Linked DNA regions of Homo sapiens: regions 1 and 2 are each linked to region 3. The links are contacts of gene promoters, found by promoter capture Hi-C in human tissues and cell types (Jung and others, 2019). All regions are on one chromosome and are shown on one strand. Each heading gives the region's core, a stretch centred on a gene start or on the middle of the fragment in contact. The rest is flanking DNA. Distances are from core to core; before and after follow the strand shown. Region 1 overlaps IL21-AS1 (IL21 antisense RNA 1). Region 2 overlaps IL21-AS1 (IL21 antisense RNA 1). Region 3 holds the start of FGF2 (fibroblast growth factor 2).

What was found. Contacts are between HindIII fragments. The study calls those that stand out against the background at their distance.
Region 1: a fragment that was not itself captured here is called in contact with the fragment with the promoter of FGF2 in region 3 in 1 of the 25 tissues and cell types used here (spleen).
Region 2: a fragment that was not itself captured here is called in contact with the fragment with the promoter of FGF2 in region 3 in 1 of the 25 tissues and cell types used here (H1 embryonic stem cells).

What each region holds. Positions count from the first base shown.
Region 1 is chr4:122,657,954-122,662,365 of GRCh38, reverse strand. The region is part of intron 10 of IL21-AS1 (IL21 antisense RNA 1); the gene reads right to left. Among named protein-coding and RNA genes, the nearest start is that of IL21, 39 kb to the right of the region's middle. The HindIII fragment of the contact is 3,031 bases long and covers 982-4,012 here.
Region 2 is chr4:122,629,410-122,633,468 of GRCh38, reverse strand. The region is part of intron 7 of IL21-AS1 (IL21 antisense RNA 1); the gene reads right to left. Among named protein-coding and RNA genes, the nearest start is that of IL21, 10 kb to the right of the region's middle. The HindIII fragment of the contact is 3,072 bases long and covers 10-3,081 here.
Region 3 is chr4:122,825,140-122,829,851 of GRCh38, reverse strand. FGF2 (fibroblast growth factor 2) reads right to left here and starts at 3,021. Exons shown (of 3, transcript NM_001361665.2): 1 at 2,500-3,021. The coding sequence starts at 2,677. RefSeq lists enhancers at 1,489-1,538, 1,065-1,590, 1,579-1,718, 1,591-2,116, 2,399-2,478, silencers at 2,064-2,358, 2,699-3,178, cis regulatory regions at 3,678-3,716, 3,717-3,787 and promoters at 2,844-3,811, 2,980-4,162. The HindIII fragment of the contact is 11,104 bases long and covers 1-4,712 here.

The DNA.
Region 1 (4,412 bases), core at 1,248-3,747, 170 kb after region 3:
TATATGTGTGCATACATATACATACATATGGGTTACATAAAAATATTACAAGTATTTATAAGTGTAAATGTATGTGCCTTATGTAAATATACATTTATGTATAAATTATGATCATTAACATATAAAACATGTAACAAAATCATACCTATATATGTGTGTATATATACATATATATACAATAATTCTATATAAAATCCTATCTATGTGGTGTGTGTGTATGTGCAACCATGAACCTAGCACTGTACTGGATATTGAGGGGAATGGTTGCTGGTGGAGGCTGGTGATTGTGTAAAAGGAAGAGATAGTTCTGCACAGATGGTAGCATTATTTCTGATTATATGCCAAAGTTAATATACTGGATCGGGTACCAGTTTTTTTGTGGGTAAAGCATATAGCTAGCTGTTCACACAGTGCCAACTTACTTTCTGGGCCCAGGCTGATTTGGTCAGAGAACCTTCTTCCCTAGGAAGCTTGATCTGTAGTTCCCCTTATCTAGTGACACGTAGGAGTTGCTTTGCTGTTACAGCAACAGCCTGTAACTGTTTGACTTCCAAGACTGACCTGCTGGTTCCTTTGAAAACAAACCCATTGGAGTGACCAGTGAAGTCATCTATGGTGGTAATTGACTGTTTATTGTCTCCACTTGGCCTCCCTGCCAGTGACTAGAGGGTAAACACAATGTTTCAATCATCTTTGTTGCCCCAGCACAGACTCCACACTTCAATGTGCATTTGTTGAACAGATCCAAAGCTGCAATTGGCACTTAACACAGTATCTCACCTGCAGAGTCTCCACTTTGGAGAGGTAGATGCCCTTTCTTTATGATACGTTATCAAAGGCATCCTCTCTTCTAGACACCATGTGGAAGTACATCATTGATCTTTAATGCTTCTGGTTTCCTCTTTTACCCTTAAACTGCTTTTGAACTGTCAAACTGAAGCAAGCCATTTGGTGATTTCTATGCTTGGCATCTGGGGTTATTTGGGGTGTGGATGAGGGCAATTGCTTTATATTCTGAAACACTCATGCAGAGCCTGAGTAATCTTTGCTTTTCTGGGGAAGGAATAGCTTACAGTCTCTTAGGAAGTATGCAGCGCAAAAAGAGAATAAAGCAATGACAAAACAACAACAGCAACAACAAAATGGAAAAAAGATAAAAGACTAAGAACTTAAACTCTACAAATTTATGCACACACATTCTTTAATGAATTAGTTTCTAGACTTGAAAGCAGTTCAGCTAGACCGGAATACATCAACAGTCTTAGTTCTGTCATGGAGTCTCCAGGGAGGACTGCTAACTCCAGCCTCAGCCTCCTCATCTGTGGCACGGGTTCACTGGGAAAGAGGAATTAACTCAAGACACAGTAGTTGGCATTGACTCTCTGATGAAGTTCCAAGTGGGAGAGTTAGTATACTTGTGTATATGGAGAGAGCAGAAGCTACAGGGATATGGATTTTGACTCCATTTAAGGAAGAACTCTCAAATACAAAGCTTTCCTAAGGTGGAATGGCCACTTTGTAAGGTGATATATTATTTGATACTGAAAATATTTGAAATGTCCTGGATATAAGAATGTATTAAGTGGATTCCAAGTTCCCTGACATCTTTTACAAATATGATTTTGTGTCTCGTTGATCGCTAAGGCAGCATTGTACTATATAACTTTCTGCAGTGATGGAAATGTTCCGTATCTGTGAGGTCCAAAATGGTAGTCACTGACTACCTGTGCTTATTGAGCACTTGTATGACTGAGGAACTGATTTTTTAATTTAATTTAATTCTAATTAATTTAAATAGCTACACGTGGCTAGTGGCTACCATATTAGACAGTGCTGCTCTAAAATCTCTACCAGCTCTATAGTTTGAATTTTTTAAGCTCTCATCATTATCATTTTATAATCAAATACTGTGTCCTGGACACTGCGTATAAAATTGCTCTATTTAGGATATGGTCCTGCTTTAGAAAAAAATCACCTTCTTGAGAGAAAAGTAGAACCCATGTAAAAACACTGAATTGGAATAAGGAATAAGGATACATAGCAAATAAACTACTGCCAAACTAGAAAGTGCCCATGTCCAAACACTCTATTGTAGAGCCACAATTAAAACACAGGTGTTTCTAAGAAGCATAAAGATACGAAGACCAGCTCCTGTCCTTTGCTGTCTTTGGGGTGGGAGGGAAGTAGCTTTAGGCTCGAGGCTCCCACTGATGTGTTATTGTGCTGAATGCAGGATTCTTCCCTCAGTACCTACTCAATGGTCTGCTAGTGTTTTCCTATACATTAAGAGTAATAGAGGCCGGGCACGGTGGTTCACTGCGCCAAAGCTTTGTATTTCAGAGTTCTTCCTTAAATGGAGTCAAAATCCATATCCCTGTAACTTCTGCTCTCTCTATATACACAAATGTACTAACTCTCCCATCTGGAACTTCATCAGAGAGTCAATGCCAACTACTGTGTCTTGAGTTAATCCCAGCACTCTGGGAGGCCAAGGCAGGCGGATCACGAGGTCAGGAGATTGAGACCATCCTGGCTGACGTGGTGAAACCCTGTCTCTACTAAAAATACAAAAATTAGCCAGGTGTGGTGGCGGGCGCCTGTAGTCCCAGCTACTTGGGAGGCTGAGGCAGGAGAATGGTGTGAACCCAGAAGGCAGAGCTTGCAGTGAGCCAAGATCGTGCCACTGTACTCCAGCCTGGGCAACAGAGCGAGACTCTGTCAAAAAAAAAAAAAAAAAAGAGTAATAGAGATGTAGAACAATGTGATAAAGTGACTTCAAGCTTCATGTTACTTCACCAGAAAGAAGAAGGTCTTTGAGTTGGATTTTATCATTTTAGATGAGGAAGAAGCCCTGAAATCTAATCCTCATATTTTACAGAGAAGAAAACTGACACCTGAAACCCAGAAAAGACTTGTGCGTTGTACAGTCATGTGGTTATTTAATAGTAGACTATTTCATTTGTGTAAATTAATAATGTAGTAAATAACAGTTATTCTTCTTCTAAAATGTAATCTTTTTCTAAAAAAAAAAAAAAAAAATGGCGCCTCCCAAGAGCTTCTTGGAGTTGAAGGAGAGTCAAGCACATCATCTAACAGCATTTCTCTGGAGTGTTTCACAGCTCTCCTGTTTCTTAAAGGGGTGACACAGACATTTATTGAAAACCTGGTTTGAGGACTGGACTGAACTTCTGCTTGTGTTTATTTCAGCTAAGACGTGGTCTCCCCAGACCTGGTCCCAAGAACAACTGTCATGTGCTCAAGGTCTGCTCTGGGACCATATTCTCTCCAAACAAGGCTCTTTATAGCAGTTGCCAAGAAGAAATTCTTTCTTCTTATAATTCATTGAACATCCTTGTAAGTCACCTAGAGAATGGCAAAATCTAAACAAACAAGTTCTGTTTTCAATTTGTCTTCCTGAAAACCAAACTTCACCCACATGAAACTAGCTAGCATGCCTCAAATACTGAAAGCTTCTAGGTACTTTCTGAGTTTGCTCTGACTCATGTCTTACCTACATATTTATTCTTAATTAAAAAGAATCAAATAAAAGACAGAAGAGAAATTGGGCGCTCTTTCAACAAATTGATTCTTCGTATACCTTCATTTTTTCTTCATTACCATGTGAACCTCTTTCTTTTTCCTTGGAATGAATAGAGAATTCAGATAACTAACATATTTGGAAGATTTTTTAATGGAACATTTAGATTTTACAAGTTCAGCAATTTAAGGAAAGCCACTCTATATCAAGTGCTATGATCTAATCAGATTTCTTTTCATAATGACTAGTAGATTTTCATGATGTCAGTTGCCCATCTAAAACCCATAATTGGTTTCCAAATGGGACTTTTCTGGATTAAATATGACCTCTTAAGCCTGGCAATCTATCGTTAACTTTTTCTTTCCCTCTACCTAGCAAACATCTTCAATTCACTCTTCATCCCCACCCCAACACACTCCCTTTTTCAGCCAGGCTTTTCTCCTTACTATGCTCCCTCCTCTATATTTTTCTTTTTTCTTTCTTTTTTTTTTGGTGAGGGGATGGAGTCTCGCTCTGTTATCCAGGCTGGAGTGCAGTGGCACGATCTCGGCTCACTGCAACCTCCGCCTCCCAGGTTCAAGTGATACTCCTCTCTCAGCCTCCCGAGTAGCTGGGATTACAGGCACCTGCCACCACACCCGACTAACTTTTTAAATATTTTTAGTAGAGACAGGGTTTCACCATGTTGGCAAGGCTGGTCATGAACTCCTAGCCTCAAGTAATCTGCCCACCTTGGCCTCCCAAAGTGCTGGGATTACAGGCGTGAGCCACCACGCCCGGCCACTCCCGACATTTTTCTTGTGTACAGGCCTCTCCTACCTTCCCTGCATAACATTCCATACCTCATTCCCACTATTCAGGACCATCATTTCTT
Region 2 (4,059 bases), core at 296-2,795, 190 kb after region 3:
AGCATGTGTGTAATTATGGTTTGGCTCGTGTCTTCACAGAGTAGTGACCTGATAGCATCTAGAGAAATACCAAACACACATATGCTCAATAAATGTTTTCTGATGATGTAATGCTTCCTATTTATTGTTTTAATGGCAAGTCATTTTATCTTTCAGATTGGCACATTTTTATGGTAAATGCTGAATAATGAATTTAAGAATCCTCAACTTAGAGTTTAAAAAATTCCTTGAAAGCAATTCTGTCACCTTACCTCCTAATTTTCAGAATGCTATTTAATCTGCCAGTGACTAAGCTTGTAGGAAAAACCTTTTTTGTTGTTAGGTAAAGGAAAATGTGGGTGGAGAGAATGAGGTCTGGTTTGTATCCACCTCATAATTTGGACTGTCCAAGATAGAGGAAAAAGGAAATCTCAGCCCTCCCCAGCTAGGGATATGAGGTTGCTTAGAATTCCATTTTTGGGGAAGTCCATTACCAAAGTTATGTAAATTCTCAAGTAACAAATTGACTCAGCATGTTCCTAAGCCGCAGACCTCTTAGGTGAAGTATGCTAAATACACGTCATTTGCCTATTTGCTCTCATTAAGTGACAGGGAAACCATGTATTTTCCCCACCTCATACACACACAAAGCGGAAGTACACTAAGCTCCCCTGTTGGTCTTGTTCTTATTCACCTTTCTTGCAATTAAGACATTCTGCACCTGACCTTAGCAATTAATTTAAATTACCTTCACCGCTCCCCTCCACCATGATATTCCAGTGAGCTTAAACAATTATAGCTACTCTTCTCTTGCCAAAAATGCTTTTCTTATCTTTTGTGTAGCTAGGAAAATTATTTCACGTTATAAATCTATTTAGAAATCGGCTGGGATTGTCAAAGTTCTAACCACCACATTCCCCAAAGCTTACTTTCTATCATCAGCGATAGCAGCCACTACTATCACACTTTTTAAAAAAGTGTGATCCACAAGAAAGCTTTTCCTCAATTTCTGAAAAAAGGCAGGGAACTAACATTTAATGAGTTAATCCCTGCTATTTGCAAGAAAGTTTTAATGGACTTACATATATCATTTAAAGTCAAAGTTTCTTACTTTTTCATTAAAGACTGATAGTTTTTCCTGTGAATAAAGGAGTTAGAGTGAGCAGAGTTTATAGAAAACATACAGATATGTGAGTCTTAGGCTTCCCATTGCCAACAAGGTGCTCTTCATTTTATACAATGCCAGGGATTTTCTGCCACCCTCACCACAGTTCCCGTATTAATCACGTCCATTCCTAACACTAACAGAAATCATCCTAGGCCGCTGTATCACCGTGCCAGTAGCAATATTCGTGTCTTAGCAGTAGCTATCCCATCACCATTTATTAAGTGTGACCTTGGGCAGGTTTCCTCATCCCTCTGTGTCTCCAGTTTCTCATCTCTAAAGTGGATGACAATAGTAGCTACCTCACAAATGTGAGGCTTAGGTTTATGGTACTTCATTGAATCTACATTGCCATTGATTGTGAGAGGCAGCTGGTTTCAGAAATATTAATTTATGAATATAATGTCCACGAATAGATGACATATAGTAATAGCTAAAAAATATCTAAGTACGAAATTAAGAATAGTGCCTGGCACAATAGGATGTGTCCAACAGATGCCAACTGAGATTATCTATTAGCGACCCATGGGCAACAGGGTAAAAGTGGGCTTGTCAAGCCTCCTGTGGGCCATGATATGGATTCTTCATCTGAGGAAGAACACCTGGAGTACATCCTTGTTGAGTTTTCCTGGGCAGGTCATGCCACTGTTCTGGGCCTCTGTAAATAGGGGGCTAGATTAGTCACCTTTAATTTCTTTTTTCCTACCAGGTAAACATATTTTTCCAAATGAAATCTTACATAGGACCCGAAGTGTAAAACAGATAAAAGGATTTGTTCTGGTTGAAGCAGGGCTGGAGGAGCACCAAGCTCTGCCTATCATCTTTCCTCCCCTTTACCTGCAGGGAAACCCCACCAAGAGTCCTTTCAGGGCAGTCATCTCACCTTGTTGTCATAGTAAGATCATGAGTCTCCCAACACGCCTACAGGTGTTTGTTAATTACTCCAAACTTTGTCATATTTCACCTTATTGGGCTGAATCATTTAGTACTTAATATGTGCATTGCACAGACACTTTCTATTATACTTTTCTTGCTTTCCTCCACTTTGGTCTCCAAACTCCTTCCAATCTGTCTAACATAACTGAGACCATATTTTCATCTCAGTCAGATCACCTGATGACCCTTCCCAGATTTAGTGTAATGCTCGCAGAAGACACAACATGAAGGGTGTTGAACTTTTATTCCATATAAAGCTTTCTGCTCTCAAGGACTTTTTATTCTAATGTCTTCTTCTTGAAACCCTCCTTGAGCTCCATCTCAGAAAGCCTCCACCCAATAACAGATTCAATTTAACTTTTTTTTTTTTTTTTTTTTGAGACAGAGTTTTGCTCTTGTCACCCAGCCTGGAGTACAAAGGCACAATCTTGGCTCACCACAACCTCCACCTTCCGGGTTTAAGCAATTCTCCTGCCTCAGCCTCCTGAGTAGCTGGGATTACAGGCATGCGCCACCGCACCCGGCTAACTTTTTGTATTTTTAGTAGAGACGGGGTTTCTCCATGTTGGTCAGGCTGGTCTTGAATTCCCGACCTCAGGTGATCCACCCACCTCAGCCTCCCAAAGTGCTGGGATTACAGGCGTGAGCCACCACACCTGGCCCAATTTAACTATTTTTGTGTATCCATTATGAGCTTATGGGAAACATAACTTTCTTTTCCTGGATTCTTCACATATAGCTTAGCAGATAAATGAAAACAGAATTACTCTATTCAGTATCCCACACAAATTGTGTAAAGTGTTTCTTCTCTGATGGTGCCTGCTGGATTTGTGTATATGTGAATAACTCAGGCTTGGTATGAGTTATGTGCAGTGTACAATAGGAGCTAACTGAAGGCAGTTTCCACAGAAGCCCATGGTTGTGGCAACTCAGAGAGCTTTGACACAGAGAACAATTGACAACATGTAAGAGAATGTTTTCTAAAATAAAATTACTCTTTAGGGATTCAGAAAGTAAGCAGGATATTCCCAAATCATCTTTCTCCTACATACTAAGCAGATATTGTCTCTTTATAACAGTTTTCCTTCACTTATATTTCCGTAAATTAGAAGAAGTCAAACAGTGTTATTTGTTTTTCTGCACAGGATCATTGATTCAAGGAAGGAAAAAAAAAACCCCAAAGCTCAAATACCAAAAGTCATTTAAAAGAGCCTCTTTCTAGTCCTTAGAGAGATTATAGTATTCAATTTGTTTTATTTTAAACAACTATTTAGAGGCTAGAAAGGTTTATTTAATAAAACAATTACAATTAAAATACGTTTTAGTTTCATGGTATGCAGATTTGAATATGAAACAAAGTGGAAGAAAAAAGTGAAGTAAAGAGGAGAAGAAATCTGGGAGGAATGAGCAACAAAAGAGGAAGGAGGAATAGAGAGACCCAGAGAGGAAGCAGGAGGGAGACGAAGGGAGAGGGAGGCAGACAAGCAGAGCTTTGCCATGTCTGTGGCTCCCTTGGGTGGTGGCTGCTAGCAGTCATCATTCTTAACGATTACTGTTGACCTTCCCCAGCCTCTATTAGGTTTCTAATAACCTAAATGTAAACATTTCTAAATGCTGACCTGAACACCAGCGCCATTAAAAATAATTCTCTGAAGACAGTAGCAATGACCAGAGCAGTGGTTCTGAGAGCTGGATAAGTCAAGTCAAGGGCCAGAGAGTCCCTCATCCCTGTCATGTCATTAAAGCTTCTGATTGATGCAGATCTTGATGACAGAACAGCTTTGACTAAATACGTTAATCTGACCTGTGATGACTTAACTGCCAATATCCAAAATCATTGAACCACCTATCTCTTAATTTCATGAAAATTTACTTTTAGTTGATTCTTGTTACAAGCATGTTTCTTTTGTATTCCTGGTTTTCCTTCTTCTTTTGCACTGATATCCCCCTTGGTGTGTATTTTAAAGTTCTGAGAGCTA
Region 3 (4,712 bases), core at 1,772-4,271:
GTACTTAAATTTATGTCCAGGTTGGGCTACATAGAAATAGATGAAATTTGTCATTTTTAGATTTGTATTCTTGTCAGTCTATTGCCTGGTACAGGTATCCTTTAAAAAAAGAGTAGTCTCTTTGGGGACTTGGGAAGAAAGGGTGGGAAGTTGGGGAGGGACAGGACTACAAACTGGATTCAGTGTATACTGCTTGGGTGATGGGTGCAACAAAATTTCACAAATCACCACTAAAGAACTTACTCATGTAACCAACTACCACCTGGTCCCTAAAACCCTATAGAAATAAAAAATTTTAAAAAAATTGGTAGTCTCCACAAGTCTGGATGAGTTATTCTACATTTCCCTTTTAATGTCTTGTCCTTAGCTAGTTATAAAGTTAGCAGAGTTCTCAACCTGAGTACTAGTGACATTTGGGGTCAAAAATGTTTTTGTTGAGGGTATTATAATGTGTATTGTAGGATGTTCAGCAGCATCCCCGGCCTCTACCTGCCAGATGCCAGTAGCACCCTTCCAGGTTACAGCAACCAAAAATGTCTCCAGGCATTGTCAAATGTCCCCTGGGAGGCAAAATCGTCCCCATTTGAGAACCACAGAGTTAAAGTAAGATTACAAAAATGAAAACCCAACTCACAGTTAGGAAGAAAAAGTTAACGGTTGTTTTTACAACGGTGGTAATGTGGTATGCAATTCAAAATTATGTCCACTGGCTAACCTCTACATAGTTTTATTCTAAGGCGAATCGGGTATCAAAATCTTCAAAGAAAAAATGATTCAGCAACTAATAGAGTCTGAAAAAAAAAGAGTATTAGGGGAAGCCCCAAATATTAATTTAATTTAAAGGGAAATTCTTCTGTCTTCTGGTCATAATACATGCTTTTTAATAAATAATTTGTGATACTAGAAAGAACAAAACCAATTGGGACACACAGCACCTTGCCCTTGTCAGCTGAGATGGCGTAGCAGACAACTGCAGAACAAACTTCAATCACAAAGATAATTTTTTGAAATAGATGAGTTCAAGTTACCAGAATAGAGAACTAGCACTAACCCATCTAATAGGTTACAAGCATCTTTTCAGTTTTACGGGATTAAGTGATTGATAAAATTTTTAAATTATGGCAAGCCTGAAAAAAATTAAATACTTGCCTCTCTTGCAGGTTGCTATTTTGGAAGCAATAAAGACTCAGCTCATATGAAAGTGTATTGCCCATTCTTCTGCCAATTCACGTTTGGTTGTAGAATTTTCTTCTCTTCCAGCCCCCCTCCACCTCCCCTCATGACATCCCATTAGCATCCCAAGACAAAGGCAGAACTACAGGGGAGTGGCGCTGGGACCCCTGTGGGTCTTTTCTCAGGCAATGAGAGAATCAGATTCTCCACCTGGAACCCATAAAGGAAGGAACGCCATAACACACAGCTTTTAAAACACATGTTTACATACACTTACAGGAGGACAGGTTACAATATATTCTAGTCCTCTTTCTCTCACTTCAAATTCCATCAGTGTTGTAAATCGGCTCATCTTATGCCCCTTTCTTTCTCTTTCCTCTAGACCAGTGGCTCTCAAAGTGTGATGTGATCAGCATCCCCGGGGAACATGTTAGAAATGCAAATCTTCAGCCCCCACTCCAGACTTAGGGAATCCCCTAAAGTCCAAGCACTCCTTATTTAGGCCAGTGTTCTTTCTAGAACCACAAACATTGTTTCTTACAGAAAGCAAAACTGCAATTCTCATTTCATCCTCAAGCCTGCTGCAAGGTAGTAATATATTAGCCCCACGTGAGCGATGAGGAAACCGGCTCTGGGGTTAAGCGTCGGCTCAAGGTCTCAAAGCTAGTCACTGCAGGTGGAAGATTAAAGTGTTTGCACTTCTTTTCACTACTGAAACAAAGCTATGGCACTTTATTAACAACATCTGGATTTTTTGCTGGTTGGCTGGTTGGTTTTTGTTTTTGCTCTTTCAGCTTTCGTCAATTCGGAAAAATATAAAACAGAGTGGGTGAGAGTAGTGTGCCATATGCCTCGGGTCGTCCCGAGTCGGAATTTAAGGGCAGGACTCTAGAAAGGTGTTTTTCCAGTAAAGACCGTTTCGTTCTGCTGCGGTCCTTCCTGTCTTTGTCCCCGGGACAGCACGCAGCAGATAGAAGCGGCCAGAGCTGCATGGCGGGGCCGCGGGCATCCCCGACGCGACAGGTTGTCCGCGGGAAGACAGCCAGTCCGCGAGGCCCCGGCGCGCCGCGGCTCCGGGCCGGGGGTACTGGTTTACAGGGCAAATTGGCACACCCCAAAGCCCAGGGGACACCCGGGCCTACGCCGCAGCCCGGAAAGGAGGGGGTGAGTGGTGAACCCGAAACCGCCGAGGGCCGCGCGGCCAGAAACCACACGGAGCGCTAGGGTCGCAGTGAAGATCCGGGAGGAGGGTGCAGGCTGGAGGGGAGAGAGCGGGCGAGAACCCACGAAATGGAAATGAGGCGGAGAGAGCGGGTCGGCACTCACTGTGAGGGTCGCTCTTCTCCCGGACCCCGTCAACTCGGCCGTCGGGGTGGATGCGCAGGAAGAAGCCCCCGTTTTTGCAGTACAGCCGCTTGGGGTCCTTGAAGTGGCCGGGCGGGAAGGCGCCGCTGCCGCCATCCTCGGGCAAGGCGGGCAGCGTGGTGATGCTCCCGGCTGCCATGGTCCCTGCGGGGCCCGGCCGGGATCCCCGAGCCGCTGGAGCCGCGCGGGGAGCCGCCGTCCCCCGGCCCCGGCCCCGGCCTCCGACCCGCTCCGGGGCACGGCCCCGGCCCCGGCCCCCCAGCCTCCCGCCCGGCAGCGCGCGGCCGCGCCCGCGGTCCCCCAGCCTCGAGCCGCTCGGCCGCTCTTCTGTCCGCCGGCCCCTGGTGCGCGGCGAGCCGGCGGCCCGGGACCTGGGGTTCACGGATGGGTGTCTCCGCGGACGCCGCCTGGGGAGAGCCGCCTCCCAAGCTGCAGCGCCCGGGATCCCGTTGCAACCGCGGGCACCGCGTCCGCTAATCTGGCACCCGCCGGGCCGCGGCGTCACATCTTCTACATCTCCACCCCCCACACCCACCAGCCTCCCGCGCCCCCAGTTCTCCTCCCTCCTGCGCGCCGCCCCCTACTCGCTCGGGTTTTCTGGGGCCGGCCTCTGAGTTCGGCGGTTCGGCCACAACACGCAAGCGCGCGACATCAGTCCGGCGGGGAGCCCGGCCTCAGTCGGGGGCGGGGGAGAGGCGAGGGGCGGGGGGCGCGCGTCGGAGGCCGCGGCAGGGCTTTGGCATTCCCTGGGCTCCACCGCCCCTTATCCCCCAAAAGTCACCCCCGCCCAACCCCCGCACCACCCAAACCACGTTTAGGCTTTCTCCACACTGCGGGGCTTTTGCTGCGCAACCAGCCGTGACTCAACTTTTAAAAGTTTAAACTCAACTTTCTCCCCCATTTTTTCCCCGCTAGCGTTTCAAAACGGAGAAGCCGTTTCCACCCCAAAGTAGAGAAGTTGCAATCCAAGGAAGAGTCTGTGTCAGAGCAGGCTTTGAAAATCTCTAAATCACCAAAAGACGAGGGGTACAAGTGGGGCATAAACTTTAAAATTAAAGGACAGAGGCTGAAGTCGTCTACCAACAAAAGGAGAGAAAGAGGCCAGAGAAGGGGAGCAGATTGGGTTGCTAAAACGAAAAGGTTTCCTTTACTGACCTATCTTGAATTAGACGACGCAGAAAGATGAGGATGGGGATAAGGATAAATCCTTATCGCGATCGAAGCGCATTAATGTCTTAACTCGGACCTGGCATTTGCCCTAGCTAAATTGTTATGCATTTCTTGGAGAGAGAGTTATTTTCTGTAAATCCCAAATGTAAAATTGAAGTTAATTGCATTTTGGTAATTTTCAGTAGGATATAGCAGGTGCCACAGATGACTAGGAAAATATCTATTCAGAAAACTTGCATGTATTGAGTACCTACTGTGTGCAACACATAATGTTGAGTGTGTGGGAGATGCCAAATCTGATGCCAGCGTCTCACACACTGAGGGAGATAAGATGGGTAGCATGAGTAACACAAATAGCAGTAGAAAGTAGGCCATAGAAGAGTAAGACTAAGTGCTGTGACATTTCAGACATCGGATAACTCAGCGTGGGGAGGCAGGAGATTTGGGGAAGCTTCTAGAAGGAGTTGCAAGTATGGACGTGCCTCCTTGTAGAAACATTAGGTTTCAAAAGGCCATGCATAAGTGCATTTGTTCTTAAGTCTCCAAGAAGGCTTTAACTCCAGATGCATTTCTAGAATGTTACATACAGGAGAATGAGTAAATTCTTTGAAGCTTTAAAACCAGGCATACTGTTTTTATTTTTATTATTTATTTATTTTTTTTAGACAGAGTTTTGCTCTTGTTGCCCAGGCTGGAGATCAATGGCACGATCTCGGCTCACCGCAACCTCCACCTCCTGGGTTCAAGCGATTCTCCTACTTCAGCCTACCGAATAGCTGGGATTACAGGCATGCGCCACCACCACGCAGGGCTAATTTTTTGTATTTTTAGTAGAGACGGGGTTTCTCCATGTTGGTCAGGCTGGTCTCGAACTCCCAACCTCAGGTGATCTGCCCGCCTCAGCCTCCCATAGTACTGGGATTACAGGCGTGAGCCACCGCGCCAGGCCCAAAACCAGGCATATTCTTCTTTCTTCTTGCAGTTGGTATATGTTCTATAGAGGA